Regions from separate parts of the Homo sapiens genome. Here regions 1, 2, 3, 4, 6 and 7 are each linked to region 5. The links are contacts of gene promoters, found by promoter capture Hi-C in blood cells and fetal thymus (Javierre and others, 2016). All regions are on one chromosome and are shown on one strand. The core of a region is centred on a gene start or on the middle of the fragment in contact, and the rest is flanking DNA. Distances in the headings are between cores, read along the strand shown.

The links. Contacts are between HindIII fragments. The CHiCAGO score rates a contact against its expected background, and 5 or more counts as called.
Region 1: a contact is called between a fragment that was not itself captured here and the fragment with the promoter of BOD1L1 in region 5, in 1 of 17 cell types (activated CD4 T cells). The highest score is 5.0, in activated CD4 T cells.
Region 2: a fragment that was not itself captured here is called in contact with the fragment with the promoter of BOD1L1 in region 5 in 1 of 17 cell types (non-activated CD4 T cells); the score reaches 7.0 in non-activated CD4 T cells.
Region 3: a fragment that was not itself captured here is called in contact with the fragment with the promoter of BOD1L1 in region 5 in 2 of 17 cell types (non-activated CD4 T cells and fetal thymus); the score reaches 5.2 in non-activated CD4 T cells.
Region 4: a fragment that was not itself captured here is called in contact with the fragment with the promoter of BOD1L1 in region 5 in 2 of 17 cell types (total CD4 T cells and naive CD8 T cells); the score reaches 6.6 in total CD4 T cells.
Region 6: a contact is called between a fragment that was not itself captured here and the fragment with the promoter of BOD1L1 in region 5, in 2 of 17 cell types (total CD4 T cells and naive CD8 T cells). The highest score is 6.5, in total CD4 T cells.
Region 7: a fragment that was not itself captured here is called in contact with the fragment with the promoter of BOD1L1 in region 5 in 1 of 17 cell types (non-activated CD4 T cells); the score reaches 7.0 in non-activated CD4 T cells.

What each region holds. Positions count from the first base shown.
Region 1 is chr4:16,235,729-16,238,428 of GRCh38, reverse strand. All of the region lies in intron 1 of TAPT1-AS1 (TAPT1 antisense RNA 1), which reads right to left. Among named protein-coding and RNA genes, the nearest start is that of TAPT1-AS1, 10 kb to the right of the region's middle. The HindIII fragment of the contact is 2,892 bases long and covers 1-2,700 here.
Region 2 is chr4:11,467,805-11,470,504 of GRCh38, reverse strand. No RefSeq gene overlaps it. Among named protein-coding and RNA genes, the nearest start is that of HS3ST1, 40 kb to the right of the region's middle. RefSeq lists an enhancer at 134-323. The HindIII fragment of the contact is 739 bases long and covers 949-1,687 here.
Region 3 is chr4:15,782,023-15,784,722 of GRCh38, reverse strand. The region is part of intron 1 of CD38 (CD38 molecule); the gene reads right to left. Among named protein-coding and RNA genes, the nearest start is that of CD38, 5.0 kb to the right of the region's middle. The HindIII fragment of the contact is 614 bases long and covers 1,131-1,744 here.
Region 4 is chr4:15,746,663-15,749,362 of GRCh38, reverse strand. It overlaps a transcript of BST1 not described here. Among named protein-coding and RNA genes, the nearest start is that of CD38, 30 kb to the left of the region's middle. The HindIII fragment of the contact is 683 bases long and covers 1,070-1,752 here.
Region 5 is chr4:13,626,373-13,629,072 of GRCh38, reverse strand. BOD1L1 (biorientation of chromosomes in cell division 1 like 1) reads left to right here and starts at 1,348. Exons shown (of 26, transcript NM_148894.3): 1 at 1,348-1,728. The coding sequence starts at 1,486. MIR5091 (microRNA 5091) reads right to left here and starts at 1,208; the gene lies at 1,116-1,208. RefSeq lists enhancers at 458-1,188, 1,192-1,351, 1,189-1,919 and a silencer at 1,492-1,691. The HindIII fragment of the contact is 7,220 bases long and covers 1-2,700 here.
Region 6 is chr4:15,691,222-15,693,921 of GRCh38, reverse strand. No RefSeq gene overlaps it. Among named protein-coding and RNA genes, the nearest start is that of BST1, 10 kb to the left of the region's middle. The HindIII fragment of the contact is 703 bases long and covers 1,065-1,767 here.
Region 7 is chr4:16,216,885-16,219,584 of GRCh38, reverse strand. The region is part of intron 1 of TAPT1 (transmembrane anterior posterior transformation 1); the gene reads left to right. Among named protein-coding and RNA genes, the nearest start is that of TAPT1, 8.2 kb to the left of the region's middle. The HindIII fragment of the contact is 816 bases long and covers 962-1,777 here.

The sequences.
Region 1 (2,700 bases), core at 110-2,609, 2.6 Mb before region 5:
GTTAAGGGCAGTAAGATCCCCTTGACTGAGATATGAAAGCAAGTGATAGCAGCTCTGGAGAAAGTTCTGGGCCCAGGAAGGAATTAGGGGTTTAATGGGGAACCCAAAGTAAAAGCCCAAATGGATGGGCCAGATTGAGGATGGTTCTGTCTTGGGCACGGCTGCAGAGGAATCATTAGATATGGAGATTTAGGCAGCAATGCTAAATTCTACCCCTGGAAAGGACTGGGATCTTAATTTTCTTCTTGGGGATCCTGTTCCAACTCTCCTGTACATTCATCCTCTCCTCTCTAACCCATCGGCACCTAACCATGCTTAAGTCTCTCCGTACTAAAAGGAAACAAACCAGCCAATCAATAAGCAAATTTTTCTTCTTGCAGCCCAGTGTTGTCCTTGTAATTGTCTCCACATCTTCGCTTCCTTCTTGCTCCTCTTCTGTATACCCAGCTGCATATCTTTCTCCGTTCATGAGGTTGCCTTCAGTGACGACAGGGTGATGTTATTGTTGCAAAATCCACACATTTCAGTATGCATCCTCTTTGCAGCATCCAACATTGTTGACCACTTCCTCTTTCTTGACTTGACTTCCACAAGAATGCCGTCTTGTGAGTTTCTCCCTACCTTCTACCGCTCCTTCCTGGATTCTTTCTCCTAGTTTTTTGGGGTGCTCTTCTCTTACGCTATACACCCTCTGGTGAGATGTCATCCACTCTCTTGCCCCCATACCCAGATGCAAATGCTTACAAATCTACATTTCATCCTAGACTTCTCTTCAAATCGCCATACCTATATACATGTACCTATGTTCTGGACTTCTATCCTTGGCTCTTCCATAGGCAGAAGAATGCCATTTAGATTCTGAGGCAGTTTTGGTTTTAAGGACCAAAATGAAACCGACAAGGGCCAAAATGATACACAGCAAAATTTGTTATAGATGAAAAGCTGACTTGAGAATCACAGATCATTGGTAATTTTTAAAGTTGAAAAAATTGTCTCATGAAACTATTTCGCTGGTTACAAAAAAAAAGGTAAAATACAACTGAAAATAGCAAAAACAGAAAATGGTAAAAAGTTATTATTGCTCACAAATTAATGAAAAATCAAAAAGAGTAGTTGTCCAAAATTTGACATGGTAAAAATAGTAGAGCTAAAACGACATTTATCATGGAAAAGTTGTATCTGTAAAAATTTGAAAAAGATGATGATAAAGAGGTTGATAAATCAAGTATTCATTGTAAAATGTACACAAGAAAGATTTTGTCCTGATGGAAACAGTGCTAGTAAAACAATACAGGAGGGAACAAATTGGAAAAGATTAAATTTGCAATATAGGAAATAGGTCAATAAATTAAACTAGCTTAACGAAGTTAACCCTGGAATAAATCTTTACCACAAAATTCATCAGTGTTGATATCATCTTGACGGCAATGTTTATATTCAAGAACAAAAAAAACAGCAGGGTCAAAACATACAAGAGCTCAAAATGATGTCAAAATGTCCTGCGCTCCCTCTGGGTACTTCAAATTCCACAATTTCCACACTGGACTCACTTTCCATTCCCTACCTATACCCTAAACTGCTTCTCTTGCATTTCCTATCTCTGAGAATAGCACCGTCATCCTCAAGTCAAAATTCTGTACATTTTCCCCGAAATCTCCTCTCTCTTCCTTACGCACTTTTCCCCCACCTGTACACCATATCACTTGCTGCCTTTTCTGGCACCTAATTATCTCTCAATGCATTCTCTCCACCCCATTTCCACTGTAACTCCTGCTGTTAAGGCCATTAACACTTCTGGGCTACAGTCTCTTCACTGGTCATAGTGATTCTCTTGACTCCCCCAAACTATTCCACATGCCAGCAAGGAAAGAGATCTTCCTGAAGTGCAAATCTAATCATCTACTCTTCACACATTCCCTCTGCCCTGTGCCTAGCTTGCAAGGCCCCTTGTAATATTTGTATTTGCAGCCTAACCCCACCATCACATCACAGCTACATTACACCTCCCTCTGTGCCTTAGACTTCCCATCCTCTCCCTGGCTTAAAGGCATTGCACACAGTTCTCCTTCTACCTCAGATCCTGCTGCTTTCAACCTAAACCTGATAACTCCTGTGCTAGTGAATCCTTACTCATCCTTTAAGAATTATGTTGCAACTGTCTATTTCCTAGTCTTTCTCTACTACCACATTATAAAGTTCTTAGGATAAAGTCATGACTTATTCACCTTTATATTCTTAATAGCAAGTACAGTTACACTTGCAATTACTGACATGTAATAGGACGTCTCCATATATTTGTTGAACTAATGAATGCAGCTTATTTAATCTTCACAACAATCCTGCATAGCAGGTATTACTATTGTTGTTTTAAAGAAGCTCAAAGAAGTAACTTGCCCCAGTCCCCACAGCAAGTAAGGAGCAGTTTGGATTTAACCTGCATCAGTTTATAAGGTGCATGTTATTTCTATTCTACCATGCCCTGTCTTTCAACTGGATGCAACCAAAATACAGATATGGGGACACAGTTCCTACAAATATGGGATCGAGAGCTGACAGGGGGAGTAATGCATTAAAAAACAGTTACAACGCAGTGTGGTGTGCAGTTGTAGATGCATGAACCATGGGTGTATACTGAAAAGAATGGCCATGGGGGAATGGGAGGTTAAAAGACTGTGAGGTGGAATATTAGAGCTGGGGCTT
Region 2 (2,700 bases), core at 69-2,568, 2.2 Mb after region 5:
TTTTCTTACATGGTCTCATTGCATTCACAGAGCAGTGTTACAGAAGGTTAGAGACCCTTGGAGATAAAACATGTAGGGATTTCCACTCTTTTTGGTGATGCCCCAAGAACCTGGGAAGGAGTGTCAGAGTCTGCCCTCTGGGGATGGGGGCTCCCTCCAGGGGCGGGAAGCCCATCTGGCTCATCTCTCTGCCCTTGGCTCAGCTGACCATGCAACTGCAGCTGCTTGCTTGGGCTTGTTTCATGCATGACAGTTTCAGTTACCTTTCACTTGAGAAATAGATCTCCCTGCTAAAAGAAAAAAAAAAAAAGAAAGAAAGAAAATGTTTGAAGACTACTGATCAGTTTCAATACCTTCATACTGTCCATAAAAACACACAGGCCCGTGTTGCACTGGCCGTCCCTTCGCATCTCACTCTCAGCGCCTCAGTGAGCTTTCTCAGCTGTGCTACGACAATGAGCATTTGCAGACCTCTTTTCCATCTTTCAAATTGTTGGCATCTCTCAACTATTCACATTGGTGGATTAATATGTTAAATACCTTTCATTGTTATTCTAGTGGAGTTTAAGGAGGAAGCAGCAATAGAATATGTATATGTATATACATATACATATACATATACATATACATACATATACACGCACACAGAAAGAGACAGAGAGGAGGGTTTTACCTTAGTCAGGGACTCCTCTCATTGCCTGAAATATTCTTCAGAGACTTGGAGCTCCAAGGTCTTGAGGAAGGCACCACAGTGAGTGGTGGAGTCGAAAACTGGAGGATTTGGTTGAATATTTCTATCAGTAGCACCTGGACTCTTTCCTTTCCCCTGCCAACCAAACATCCAAGCACCTGTCCTTTCTACTATGTCAAGAAAAGGGATTTTGTTTTGTGGAGACTTGAAACAGGAATTCTCTACCCTACTTAGAAAGAATAAGATTAAGTAAAGCTTCAATATCCCAAGGGAAATAAAGAAGCTATTGAAAATAAAAAAATAGAACAAAATACCATTAAAAGCATAATTAGAGAAGAGCATTAACACTTCTCTCCTTAAGGAAACATTGTTAACTGTTTTATAATTTGTATACCTTTTTTCCCAACAAAAAGTGTGCAATTGTTGTTAATAATAAAAGACTTTTGGTCATGATAATTAAAAAACAAAAAAGTAAAACAAACAAAAAAACCACAGGCCCAGAAAGGGACAATCACTTGCCTAAAATCACAGATCCACTTAGTACTTAAAGGCAAAGAAGGAACTAAGTGTTAGTCTTGGGTATCACATCAGTTTCTACTCCAGGACATGCAATTGCGGTACCTGGCTCAGGTGACCACAGTGAATGTAAATACCCAATGATTGGCCCAAGAGGAAAGGAAAACAATTTAAAAAATTCCTGACAGCTGCATTTCTGGAATGTCCCCACTCCTTCCTCATGCACCTGTTGCTGCCTGAACTTCTGACACTGAGTGGTTACCGGAGGCCTGGCGTCTCCTTAGAGCACTGCCACTGGCGCTGATGAACCAACTGAGGCAGACACTTTTACCTCCCTGAGCCTCACTTTTCTCCACCAGAAACTGGTTTAGGGGACAATAGCTTAGTACTGTCTCTTCTGGCTTCTATGTTCTTCTGGTTAAGAAAAAACTAACAACATTTCCCCCTGTCCTGACTTCCCAAAAGATTGAACATGAAGCTTCACTGAAATCCTGGATGGAAACATATTATTTCCAATGTAAAATGATAAAGCCTGGTCATGTGCAAGTTGCTCCCAGCTGCTGTGCCAGGGAGAGAGGGGAGGCATGCAATCAGCTTCCAGATAAAGGAGACAAGCTGTAGTGCTCAGGGCCCAACTGAGGAACATGTAAAGAGGGATTATATATATAATAAGTATCTACCTCTCTCTATATAAAGATATATATACATATATACATATATATATATATACGTATATATATATATATACATATATATATACGTATATATATATATATATATATATACGTATATATATATATACATATATATATATACGTATATATATATATATATATAGAGAGAGAGAGAGAGAGAGAGAGAGAGAGAGAGAGAAAGCATTGTTCTCTCTATAGAAAAGAAAGATTTTTCTGTAGAAGATAGATAGTTATCCCCTGAGAACCAGGAAAGCTGATGATACAATTCACAGAAGTCAAAAAAGTCCCCAGGCTGCATGAAGTTCCTTTGAAAAGGCAGGGTTGGCTTTCCCTGGTCTATGTAAGCCCCTTCCTGTAGGTAATGGCAGGTCCGGAGACACACCCCTGGAGGCTCTCTGAGTGCCACCTGGCAGTGCTGGCACAAGTGGGGGAAGCCAGGGAGTTGGTGAGGTGGGGTGCGGGGATGGCAGCTGGCTCAGCAGCTCCAAGAGTGCTATAGGGTCTCAGTTCTGAAATTATTCACAAGTACTCAGCAGACTCAGTGCACTTTAAAAGTCACTTTTTTTTTTCTCTCACAGAGAAAAAGGATGTTGTCTTATGGCTTCCTCACCTGTGACTTCTTGGAATTTTTTTTTTTTTTTTTGGAGATGGAGTCTTGCTCTGTTGCCCAGGCTGGATCCCGGCTCACTGAAACCTCTGCCTCCTGGGTTTAAGCAATTATCCTGCCTCAGCCTCCCAAGTACCTGGGATTGCAGGCATACACTACCACACCCAGCTAATTTTTGTATTTTTTTAGTA
Region 3 (2,700 bases), core at 188-2,687, 2.2 Mb before region 5:
TCAATCATAACACTAAGCATTAAGAAGACACAGGTAAGCATGAAGCTTTCCAGCACTCTACTGAATCTCATGGTCTCAGTGAGGACACTGATGTTGAGCAGGTGGTCATTCCATCACTCCAGGGGAAAAACATGCTGGAATTCTGTCCTGTGCAAAATGGTCACCCTCATAGTCTCTTGTGTGCTGAGAAGGTCCAGCTGTGGACAGACCAAGAGGAAGTCCAGACCCTCTCACCAGCAGAATCCTCCCCAAGATCCCCAAACCTTTAAGGGTTTAGTCAATCAATTGGCCAATCTTCCCTGGCAGTAGCATCTTACCTGACCGCCAGGATTTTCTCAGCAGGGTAACACACACTCTCCAGAGCACCCTCTTGTTGAAATTCTACCTTTAAAGGAAGACCTGAAATGCTATTTCTTTCTTAAAGTGCTTCCTGACTCTGCCCCACCACATGGGGCACGTCTGCATCTCCATGGCATTGTGCTGGTACTCCACTCACATATTCAGCAATTCACATAGTCTTTCTTGTTTGATAGGGGTACATTTCTTACATCCCTGCAGAATCTAGCGCAGCACTAACTGCACAGAAGCAATGGCTCCTTCCTCAGTGACCTCTTGGCTGTGTACAGGCCTCTTTTTCATTACAGATCACATGGTGTTGCGTTGCTCTGTTCCCAGGTTGGTCCTCCGCATACCTCCCACTGCAGGATCCTGGAGATCAATGCTTGTGTTTCTTCATTTGTGAATCTCCCATGTCTCACCCTAGCATTAGGCAGACAGCTAAGTCTTTGCTAAGTGTTTGCATAAATTTGCTGTTTTGCTCATGTTGTACTAACAAGTTTTGCTGAGTAGACCCTGAGAAAATCCTACAGTCATTAAAATGGGAGGCATGGGGAAGTAAAAATGGAGAATTGGCTCCCAAGAAATCCTGCCAGAAATTTTGAAGAGGAAGTTAAATAAAAAAGAAATCGACATGAACATGAATCAGAAAAGATGGTCCTTGTGGGCACAGAAGTGATCATTAGAACGTAAGGTAAGACAGATGAAAGATTTTCTCTGATTAAGTCTCCCACAATTTCTACTTATGTTCAACCAGCATGATGTGGACTCAAGGCAGCTCAATATAGCAAGCTTCTATTAAGAGACTGTTAGGTGATAAGCAATGTGTTAGACAACTGGAGATGCAGAAGTGAATAAAATAGTCCTTCCCCACAGGGCCCCCACCTTGTCTTGGGGCAGGGATAAGGGGAGCTCTCAGAAATGCCTGCTCCCATCCCTGCATGCTTGCCTAGACCACCAGCAGTCTGCAGCTATCGTCAGTACCTGCAATCACCATCATCCATGGAGAGGGCTGGTTTTCACCCAGGTGAGATTAGTGGAACTGAAGTTACACTCTCTGGATATCTTCCTAAATTCCCAGCTTCCCCTAGGTGCTGGCTCTCCATTCCCTCCTGCAGGCCCCACCCCACCCCTGACATCACCTGGGTCCGTCCTGACTATCACCAGACACTGGGCTCCCTCCCACAGTACCGAGATGCTGTCAGCTCTGACAGTCAGCAAACGCTTTGTTGAGTCTTGGCCATGTGTATTTCAGGTCTCATGTGCCCAGAGACATCTTGGTCAGAAGGCAGCTCTTGTGTGTGGCCCTTGAGACAGCAGAACCAGAGGTGATCTGTTCAGGAATATTCCGCATGTAATGCCCCTGGTTCAACTCAAAGAACCAACCTGGTAACGCCAAGAACAAGCTTCAATACTCACCTACCCACACTAAAAAACTTGCAGAAAGTGAGTTTCTCTGGAGACCCTTACTACTATACTGTGGCACTATTACTAAGACTGTGTGACAGGCAGGAGAGGGGAGTTCTAAAGGAGACTGTTAGTGCAGGCAAGATGGACTTGGGAGAAATTGTTGAGAGATGTTTGGAAAAGGACAACCAAGGAAAAGGAACAGTGAGGAAGATAAAGTGCTACAACCTCTAAAGAAATACTAAGGACCTACTACACAAAGGAAAAATTAACAGTTTCTATGCTCAAGACAGAAATTGAGGGTTTGGGGAGTAATGGTATTAGGTCGTTCACTGGGGAAGTATATTTATTACAACTTTGTTTATGTTATTTTTAATACCCTGGCTTATATACCATTCATTTAATTCAGCTAAATATTTAATGACTATTGTATTTCAGGCACTATTCTAGGTCCTCAAGATATATCATTAAACAAAAGTCCCTAGGCTCAAGAAGACATTCCAGGAGGCATGTATTAGATTTTTATCATCTTAAAAGCTAATTGATAAAAGGTAATAAAATAAGTGTAAGAGAAGGACAAAAGAAAGACCAGAAGAAAATGAAAACAGAAAAGCTAACAAATCCAGATGTAAAGGGTAAAAACTGTCTACATTATTTTTGCTACTTCCTCCATGGAGGGGTGGAGTTTGTTTCTCCTTCTTTTGAATCTGGGCTGGTCCGGTGATTGTTTTAACCTATAGAATCTGTGGAAGGGAAGCTGTGCCAGTTGTGGATCTGAAGCTTTGAGTGGGCTTGCCAGGCTCCACTTTTGAGAGTTTAGAAACCTTGAAGAAATTCACCTCCACCAGGGAGAGACCATATGGAGAGGCCACATGGATAGAGAGAGGCCGTGTGGCAACACAGAGAGGAAGGGAGGCCTGACCAGCCCAGCTGAGCCCAGGAGCCATCGTGTTAAGT
Region 4 (2,700 bases), core at 162-2,661, 2.1 Mb before region 5:
ATTTGGATCAAGTGACAGAAAACCCGCTCGTAGCAGAAAGTGCTGGTGTCTCGTGCTTATTCATCTTGGCAATGACCGTTTCTGGACCCATCCTCTCAACTTCCAATGGGAAGCACCTGTGACTGCCTGAGAGCCTTCTCTGACTTCCAATACCTGTTCTGCCCCCACACGGGGCAGCCTGGAAGTGTCAGGAATTAATATCCTTCCTGGGAGTGCCCTCAACCAATGACTGGCAGGAATGAAGGATAGACACCTCAGCTTCCCCATGTCTTTGATTAATTAACTCTGAGAAATTTGCTACACTGTCAGCCAAAGGTCCCCGCAGGATTAAGCTCCAGTTGCCCTCAGTGACAACTTGCTTGGTAATGTGTCCTTTATGGGCTGCTTCCCTCCCTCGTCTCATCCTCCCTTCCTCTGGTGTGCTGTGGCATTTCAATTACTGCGACTCTTGCATGAAGTGAGCTATGATGGAAGAAAGAGAAAGAGATGCACTGACTTACACGCTATTATAGCAACTGAGAGATGTCATAAAATGGTAATCATAAGGAATGTGGAATTAGCTGTTGCTTTCCACTACCATCATGTGCTAAGGGAAGAAAACAACAGGATCAGATCAACTACCAACTATCAACTCGGGTGTAGTGTGAAGTCAGAAGACCTCAATGGCCCTCAACATTGAAGGAGCCCCTCACCCCCTGCAGCCAGAGGGCAGACTGTGCGAAAATCCTACAAGCACAGCATGTTCATTATGATCACAGCAGAATAATCAAGAAACTTTGGTCTCTATTCCCAGCCCTGGCAGATATCCTTCATTAAAGTCAAGGCCTTTGTGGGGAGAGAGTAAGACCCTGAGATGGGATGGGGACATCTTTGCCTATGAAATGGCACACCTTGAACCCCTAGATTCCCATGACCCCCCAGAGAGTTGGCAGGAGTCGCTTTCTCCCCCTCTTACTGAAGGATAGCAGCTCCCTTTGCCTGGAAACTGTGCACAGCCTTGCATTGCAAGAGGGTGCTTGCCTCTTCAGAACCTGTCTCCCTTCACTGCTTCTAGACAAATAACTAAGCTTCAGTATCGGCACCATGCTCCTGGGAAATACTGTCCCTTATTTTGGAGAAAAGGGATTGTTAACCAAAAGAATTGTAGGATCTGCCTAAATATATGTCAGGAATTGGGAAAGCACGCATGAGAATGGTGTTGGACTGATAATGGTGGTACGTAATATACAAGGCTGGATAAGAAAGAATGAGTTGATAAAAGGGTACTCTCTCATGAGTCAAAGTTTAATGACCTGGCAAGGCACTTAGAGCTGGTCCTAATACAACTGTAGGAATGGCTCATTGAAATCTGGAGAAAAGAAGGCCTGAAATAAATGAGATAAGGTTGGCTGGACACAGTGGCTCATGCCTGTAATCCCAACACTTTAGGAGGCCAAGGAAGAAGGATTGCTTGAGGCCAGGAATTCGAGACCAGCCTTGGCAACATAGCAAGACCACATCTCTACAAAAAATAAGAATTTAAAATATTAGCTGGGCATGGTGACTTGTGCCTGTAGTCCTAGCTACTCAGGAGACTGAGGAAGGAAGATCACATGAGCCTAAGAATTTGAGGCTGCAGTGAGCCATGATGGGACCACTGTGCTCCAGCCTGGGAGAAGGTAGGAACTTGTCTCTAATAAATAAATAAATAAATGTTTTTAAAAACTAGATAAGATTTATTTACTACTGTGCTTTGGCTCAGGGAGATAAGCTTACTCCAAAGAATGACATAGAATAACACAGCTCGCTGACAATGTTTCCAAGAGAGTCCAAGAAGACAGTCTTCATTAAAACAGTAAAGAATGTGATGGTGATGGGGGTACTGGCTTCACGGAAAAACTCCGAAGTGGTTTATATTCTGAAGGCCAGGATTGATGGTAGTGATATCATTATGGGACTGGGATTCCTAGTACCAAGAAGCAAAATAGGATTCCAGAATAGTGGAGGCTTGGTGGCAGCAAGGCAGCCATGACTACTATAATGGCATAAAGGCAGCATGGCAAACAGGGGCCTGACAGGCACGAATCTGAGACTGTGGTTAATATATCCCATGGTTCCTAAGAGCTCTTAGATGTGCAGTTGATAAGGATATTGCTTGACCTTTACAATCAAAAGTGATCAGGAGCAAGAGAGCCAAATGTTGATGATGTCAGCTACCACAATGGACGATCACAGTCTGATACCCAGTTCCCAGACTGGTGTCTGGAACCTCAGGCCCAGATTTAATCACTTAAGGGAGAGGAAGTCCTGTAAGCCACAGCAAGCATATAACATAGTGATTCTCCCAACCCTTCCCCAAAGGGACCCATACCCATTTGTTGGAGTTCCTGTGCATTTGGAGGAATGGAATACTCAGATCTTCTGATGGCTTGATCACAGAGTCTGAGCTGTCACTGCTACAAGACCCAAAACACAATCATGGGCCCCCTCAGTTAAATAAGGACTTACTGAGGCTAGATGACAAATGGACTCCAGAACTAAGTTTATCAGCACCCATGCTGTGATCATGTCCCTAGCCCCCTCTCACATTTGTTTTTTGACCTGTGGAGTAAGAGCCTTTATAGTAGGAAAGATGAAGTAAACACCCCTGAAGGTGACCACCATTCCAGAGCAATACCACATCCTAGGTTCCTATGGTTTGAATGTTCCCTCCAAACTTAT
Region 5 (2,700 bases), core at 99-2,598:
TCAGGTCTAATTCATAGTCATTTGGTATCTTGGTAAAACCTATCTGGTATATTTCCCAGAATCTGAAAGAGTGAAAAAATAAGGATTAAGTAAACAAATCCTTTGGCAAGCCAGGTGGTTTTCAGCTCTTTGCTTTCCATAAAATAGAAGGAGGGCCTAATTGAAGTCAGCTCATAGATAATCAAATCTAATTTTTTGAGGTCAAGAATTGAATGATATTGCTACAACAAAACTCTTCCATTCCTAGGCACAGTACTTGTTTATATGAACAAGGTTTCTCAGGGCACACAGCTATAAAAATTACAAATAGGAATAGAATTGATGCTCAACCCTTCTTTTCCTACTAATAAGATATATTCAGCCACAGATGTAGGAACTTTAAAAAGCAACAATATGCATTTTTCAATAAAGTTACACACACTATTTAGTAATTATGAAATTTTCTAATATTTATGTTGCTTTGACCACGTACTAATAATAATTTCAAAGATGATGCAGTCCAAAAGCAGGTGATTTGCTAGCTGTGTAATCTTACTCAACATACTTAATTTATCTGAGCCTTGGTTCCCTGATTTGCAAACTGGGGACAGTAATCAGACCTAGCTCTTAGTGTTTGTCCAAAGATTAAATGCGTTAATACATGTAAAAGCACTTAACGCCACGCTTGGTACATAATATGTGCTATAGATGTTTTACCTGCTATAATCATAGTAATCAATAGCAAATCTCCTAAAAATAAAAGCCTGTCGATTTGTCTTCACAGATAGGAAGAACGGGCTGGAGGGATCGGATCTAATCCACAGGCACACTGCCAGAAACAAGGGACCCCCACGGGGAAATGGTATGTGCAGGCAGAAGAGAGACAGAAGGAACTTGGAGCTACCTGCTGGGACAAGAATAGTGCAGGATCACAGGCTAAGAACGAAGAGGGTTGGGCGAAGTTAGAATGAGCAGATCCACGTAGGGTTCGCATTACAAATGTCTATGGATCTCTATGCACTGCTCCGGGAAACTGGAGCAAGAGAGGCAGGCCTAAAATGCCGTCGCGGATGAAGCGGGGCCAGAAACGCACTGCCCCCGCTCAGACCTAGGGCCCCAGGTGTCGCGCGGGTCGAAGCCCTAACCTCCAGGGACTCCAGACCCCTGCCGGTGACCTAAACCCCACAACCCGCGACCAGCACAGTCTTGTCGTCTCCGTCGCCACAGTCGCCGCCACTTCCGGCGCAGCTCGGCCTCGCGAGGGCGCTTGCGCCCGGCGACGGTCGAAACTGGCTCTTCGCGGCCTCCGTCGCCGGACTTTCGTCAATGTTGTCACCGTCTTTTCCTCCTTTCCCCCAGTTCCCTTTCACTTCCGGGGTTGCTCTGGATCCGCTGGTTCCGTAACAACATCCCGTTGGCTTCCCTCAGGCGGCGGGACCAGTGCAGCCGCCGCCTCCCAGGATCGTCCGCCGGTCAGGGCCCTTGCCCTCCCCGGCACAGGCCACCATGGCCACCAACCCACAGCCGCAGCCGCCTCCTCCGGCGCCGCCGCCTCCCCCGCCGCAGCCGCAGCCGCAGCCACCGCCGCCGCCGCCGGGCCCCGGGGCTGGCCCCGGCGCGGGCGGGGCGGGCGGCGCGGGTGCGGGCGCCGGGGACCCGCAGCTCGTGGCCATGATCGTGAACCACCTCAAGAGCCAGGGGCTCTTCGACCAGTTCCGCAGAGACTGCCTGGCCGACGTGGACACCAAGGTTAGGAGCGCGCCGGGTTTGGGGGTCTGCGAGGGAAGGGGAGGACCCAAGGGCGCGCTTCTTTTGCAGTGGCTTCCTCTTGGAGCTGCAGCTGTGTGCCACGGACTGTGCAAAGCACAGAGTGTTCATTCCTTAGCGTGTCCTTTGGTTCGTTTTACCGACTAGTGTTTAAGTACCTACTACGTGCCAGTCATGGTTTCGGCACAGTGATTACCCCGGTCTGATGAGCAAGACTAAGGCATTGTTCTTACAGGAACTGGTTTGGAAACAGTGGCGCTAACAGTAGCCAGTTTTGTATTCATTCTCATATCTGATGATTTTACTTTGTATCGAAGTTATGTTTGCCTTCTTTCTTGAAGGTTTCTGGGCGGTAAGGGCCTTTATCCTTTGGAGAAATGACTAAATGGTAATTGAATCAAGTTATGTGTAATATGCTTTGCTGGACATCGTGGGGGTGGGAGCGCAAAGATAAGGAGGCAAACCTGAGACAGGACTTTAGTATTGTTTCTAGCAGTGATTGCCTGATTTAGGTAACTTAGGCCATGTCACCATTCTAAGGTAAGAAGGGACAGGAAGGTGGGGTAGAGAGAACCGAGTCATTCAGTGGAGAAAAGATGCAGGAGAGGTGACAGCAGATACTGAAGTGGAGAAAGGACAGGAAAGAGAGCAGATTCAGGAGAGTAATGTAGAGAAGGGAAAGGACAGCAACAAGGTTCCCTGTCCAGAAAGAGAGGCTGGAAAGGGGAAGGGATTTTGTACCAAATGTCAGAGTGAAAGGGACATTAGCAGGAACAAGTAAACTTAGCTGGATTGGCAAAGAATTAGCCAAAGACACCAGGAAAGAGCAGTCAGTGAGATGGATGGAAAACCACAGTACAGTCTAGAATTCTGGAAGCAGAAAGCATGTTGGAAAATTAACTGGTTTGTAGGGGTTGTTTTTGTCTGCTTGTTAAATCTGGTTGGGTCCATTGG
Region 6 (2,700 bases), core at 167-2,666, 2.1 Mb before region 5:
CAACCACATCTTAAAATTGGCAAAATAGTTAAACAAATGCCTCACCAAAGAAGATATTCCATTCCTAGGTATTTACCAAAGGAAAAATGAAAATACATCTATGCAAAGATTTGTGCCCATGTTTGTAGAAGCTTAATTCGTAACTCAAAACAGTAAACAATGCAAATGTCCAACAACAATATATTAATAACTTGTAACATCATCATATAATAGAGTATTATTTAGCAATACAAAAAAATGACAAATCTTTTAAAAATATGCTGAATGAAAGAAGCTAGATGTAAAAGAACACAAACTTTATTACTCCACTTACATAAATTTCTAGAAGAAATAGTAGTATGCTGATATACACAGTTGGCGGAAAAGAGATTTCAGATGGAACGAATTGCCTGAGCAAAGGCAGAAAAGGAAAAACCATGGAGCTTCTGAAAACAGTTGAAAATTTAGTTTGATTGGTAAACAGGTTGCAGATGGAGATTGGACAGGAAAGTTAGGGTCATATCTTAAAACCATTGAGCACAATGCTAAGGCATTTTCACTTTGTTCTCTTGATCATTATGAGTTATCAATAATTTCTGAGCTTCCTTATTGAAAACTGTGTTTCTTTTCTTGGCCAAAATTCTTGATTGCCAGAGAATGAAGAGAGATTATGCATTTAAAGGCCTTAGAATAGTGTTTCATAGTGTGCTCTCATTGATGGTTTTGAATGCTTATCTAATATGTTCTGTGTGTTTATTGTCCGTTGTGGAAGGCTGAAAAATAGGCCAGCAAAGATGTCCATGTCCTAAACCCTGGAGCCTATGAATACGTTACTTTACATAGTAAGAAGGCCTTTGCAGATGTGATTAAATTAAGGATCTTGAGATGAGCAGATTATACTGGCTGATCTGGATGAGTCCAATGTCATCTTAAGAGTCCTTACAGGAGGAAGTCAGGTAAATCAGAGACACAGAGAAAATAATGTGATGGCAAAAGCAGAGAGATACTTGAAGATATTATGCTGCTGGCTCTGAAGATGCAGGAAGGAGCCATAAGACAGGGGACGCAGGCAGACTTCAGAAGCTTGGAAGGGTAAGGAAACATTCTTCCCTGAATAATCCAGATGGAATGAATCCTGCTGATACCTCGACTTTTGCCCAGTATACATTGGACTCCAAAGAAGAATAAATTTATGTTGCTTTAAGCCACTATGTGGCAATTTGCTAAAGCAGCAATAGGAAACAAATACAGATTAGGGTACCTGAAACCATCACTCTTTCTGCCCCTTTTCCCCTTCATTTGTAAGGTTGAACTTGGGAATCACCAGGAGTAGGACTATTATTCTTGTTTAATCTTGACCAGAGTCCACAAGGAAGGCACCCCAAAGAAAAAGCAAGATTGGAGAATAGGTGAGTTCAGTCATCAAGATAAAGATTTTTCTGGCCCCAAATTATGACAACTTTGCTGTAACAAACACTAAAATTATGGAAGTAATTTGGATTTGGATAATCTGTAGAGAGACTGGAAGAATTCTTAGGAATATGATAGAAGAGGCCTAAATATGCTCGAATAGGCTGTTAGTAAAAATACGGGTGTTATGAGGGCTTGGAAGTAAGTGAACAGCATGGTAGAGAAAACCTGTATCATACTAGAGAAAATCTTAACACACCATAAACTGTAGAAATATAGATGTTAAAAGTGCTGCTGGTGAGGGCTCACAAGAAATTGAGAAACATATTTTTGGAAACTAAAGGAAAGAGGGTTCTTGTTATACAGTGGTAGAAAGCTTAGATGAATTGTGTCCTATAATTGTAAGAAAACAGAACTTTTAAGCAATGAACTTGTATAGTTGAAGTTTCCAAGCAGTGATGAAGGTCTGACTTGGATTTTTCTTGTTACTTTTAGAAAAATGAGAGAGAAAAGGGATAAACTGAGAGAACTGTTAGAAAATGAAACTATGATTTGATGATTTGAGTAATTCTCAGCCTATCCAGATTGCAAAAGATGCCAAAGCTAAGAGATCCACTGTAAGGAAAACATGCTCTGGCGAGAAAGCCAACAATATGGCTGCACATCCTTTTTTTAAAAAGTTTTTGAATTTTAAATTGTGGTAAAATATACACAATATGAAATTTATTATCTTAACTATTTGTAAGTGTGGGTAGTCTTTTGCTACTGCTTAGGAGGCACAAAAGATTACAGTATTCAGATACACAGAGCTCTTTGAAGAGGCATGTGACTCACAAACCCCCTCAACCAATCTCAGCAGAAGCCCCAACTAGAGATAGGATTATTCAGGAAACATCTGTTGAGAAGCCTCTTTCAATGGAGTGAATCCCTATGACTCACAATGTTTTGTTTACCAATAGAAACACTGTCAAATTGGACTAAAACGGACAGAGTGGTTGAAATGAAAGAAGGCAACCGAGTTCCCTAAATTCTACTAGCAGGAAATGGGCTAATAAAACTATTTAGTAGCAGACATGTGGTACTCCTCATCCAAAAAGATGGCTCTGAGGGTGGAGCCCCAGGTACAGAGGGCAGGTGCAGGAGCCACAGCTATTCCCAGGCTTAGTAACCTAATGCAGTTTGTCCATGGGACTTTGAAAGGAATTGGCTGGTGTCTTCTTTTTGGCTTTTTCTCCCTTTTTGAATGGGAACATCTATGAATGTTACCCTATTTCTGTCCCACTACTGTTGTAGAGCACAGAACTTGCTTTC
Region 7 (2,700 bases), core at 120-2,619, 2.6 Mb before region 5:
ACCTTATGAAACTTTGTTGTTGTGGTTAGTATTTCTTTAGTGTATCATTTAAAACCATTCCCCAGCCTATTAGCATCGCGCTAATTGTACGCAAAGTTTACCCTTACATTCAGAACTCACCGGCAGGGCTGGACTTCGAGAATATAGGGATACATGGGGCCTGCTCTTAGAAAGTTCATGGTCTTGTAAGGGAGCAACTAGTAAAGAGTGTAGCTTCACAGAAGTCAGCCCAAGCTGCAGTGGGAGCACAGGTAAAGGGGAGGGACAGAGGGCTCCTAATTTTCCAGAAGTAACACAGTGGCCTGTTTACAAAGGCACTTGAGGCAATAATAGGCAAAGCTATCTAATGGTGAAAAGCACACTCTCTAGCCATAGACTGCTTGACTTTGAATTCTGGCTTTTCTGCTTGCTTCCTGTGTGACCTTGGAGATCTCCTTAGCCTCTCTGGGCCTTGGTTTCTTCATCTGCAAAATGGGCATAACAGTAGAACCTGTTTCATAGTTGTGAGAGCTGTACACTCAAAATAGGTTATGTTTTTATTTGACTTTTTATATTCTCCATTGTAGAATCTAAACTAGTGTTTATAATTAAAATTCTTGGATATCTAGAGGTAGAATCCAGACATTGTATTGTTTTGTACTTGTAATTAAAACACTCAGTATTTATGTTGTATGATAACATGTTTACAGAAAATTACTTAGATGATATATGTTGTTAAATATACTTATTTGTCATATTACCTTTTAATGATAGAGCTAGGATTGCAGAAATAAACATTAGATAACCACCAAACCAGAACTGATTAATACTACAGTACTTGTGAAGTTAATATGAAGTAGTTGAAGACACTGCGTCATGCTTTGCAGTTTTTATATACTTTCATACAAATACTGTCTTAGTCCTTTGATGATTCTGTGGATAAGGCAAACAGCTGACAGGTATTAAAAAACTGCTCTAAGCTTCCATTTTCTTTTCGGTGAAATTGACATCTGTGACTGGAGCAGGGTCACAGGACTAATGTTTAAGACAGCTGGTACCAGGACAGCCTTCCTCTGGTTGCTAATCCCATGCTCTTCTGTGGATCATAACACAACTCTCATTATGGTCAAAGCTGTCATCTCCAGTCACCAGAGAAGACACCATTGTGGAGAATAATTTTCCAAATAAACCTCTTTTTCTTGAGATGGAGTTTCACTCTTGTCACCCAGGCTGGAGTACAGTACACGATCTCGGCTCACTGCAGCCTCTGCCTCTGGGTTTCAAGTGATTCTCCTGCCTCAGCCTCCCAAGTAGCTGGGATTACAGGCACCTGCCACCACACCTGGCTAATTTTTTGTATTTTTAGTAGAGACGGGGTTTCGCCATTTTGGACAGGCTGGTCTCAAACTCCTGACCTCAGGTGATCCTCCCACCTTGGCCTCCCAAAATTGATGGGATTACGGGCGTGAGCCACTATGCCCGGCCCCAAATAAACCTTTTTATTTAATTTGCTTTTTAAAATTGAAAATGATTGTGCAGTAATGTGTTTCTGTATCTCTTTAACCCAGATGGCATTCTTGTGGGCTGCGTAATTTCTTTCCTTGCACTTAGTGTGGACAATGAGGATCTCCTTATTCCCAAACCCAGGGCACTCACTGGCTGTGACTGCATCATGGTACCCTGTTCCCTCAGGGGGTTTGAGGTTCAGGTACCCGTTGGGTTACCTTTACAGTCACTTAGCTACACATACAGAGTAGAGGCTCCTGAATCAGCAGCAGCTGCTACCTTGAGTGAAGCTTTTCACTCCTTCCCTGCTAACTCCCCAAGTCTCAGAACAATTCTGTCACAATCACAAGTTCTTTTCTCAAGTATCTGGAATGCTCTTCTTTTGTCATGTCTGATTTTTGTTTTATATTGGTACGTTGTTATTTATTAAGCAATTCCATTACTATTGAACATTTTGATTAATTCCAGTTTTGTTTTCATATAGATCATCTTTCAATAGAGAAATTCAGCGGTAAAGAAAAATGAGAAAATACCAGAAATTATCATATCAGAAGGGACAAATCACCCACATGAAAGTTTAGCTCAGTTTGCTGTTCACATCACTTCCTCAATTCTTTGTCGGTTCTGTTCTTTGCTGCCTGACTCCTAAAGAGACTAATTTGGCCACTCCGTTTTATGTCTAATTCTTTCTTTTCTTAGTCACTTCCCTTTCCATTTCATTTTTAGCTTCTCACTGTCTGATTCTGTTTTTGTTCTCTATGATTTTTCTTCTTCTCCTCTGACCTGTATATTGTTTTAGCAAAGATTTGTTGAGTACCTGTTATGTGCTGGGTCCCAGTGATGCAAAGGTGAATGAGAAAACCAGACAAGAAAATGAATGTAGTATACTGCAGAAAATCATAGGCAGGTGCAGGTACTGTGGAAGCCGAGTAGGGGAAAGGACAGACTCTGCCTGAGAAACTTAGGGAAGTCTTCACAGAGAGGGTACCGTCTGGGCATGTTCACTCCTGGAAAATTGGTAGGGGATTCTCAGACCAAGGAGCAGTGTGAACCCATTGACGTGTTTGGGAGAAATGAAAAGTAGTATAAAAAGAAAATTGTGACCTAGAGATTCAGGGGAGGCAGGTGTGAAGCATGACTAAAGAGATGGCCTGTGTCCAGTTGTAGAGGTTCTGGGATGGCCCGCACTGAGAAGGTAGGACTTTATTCTGGAGG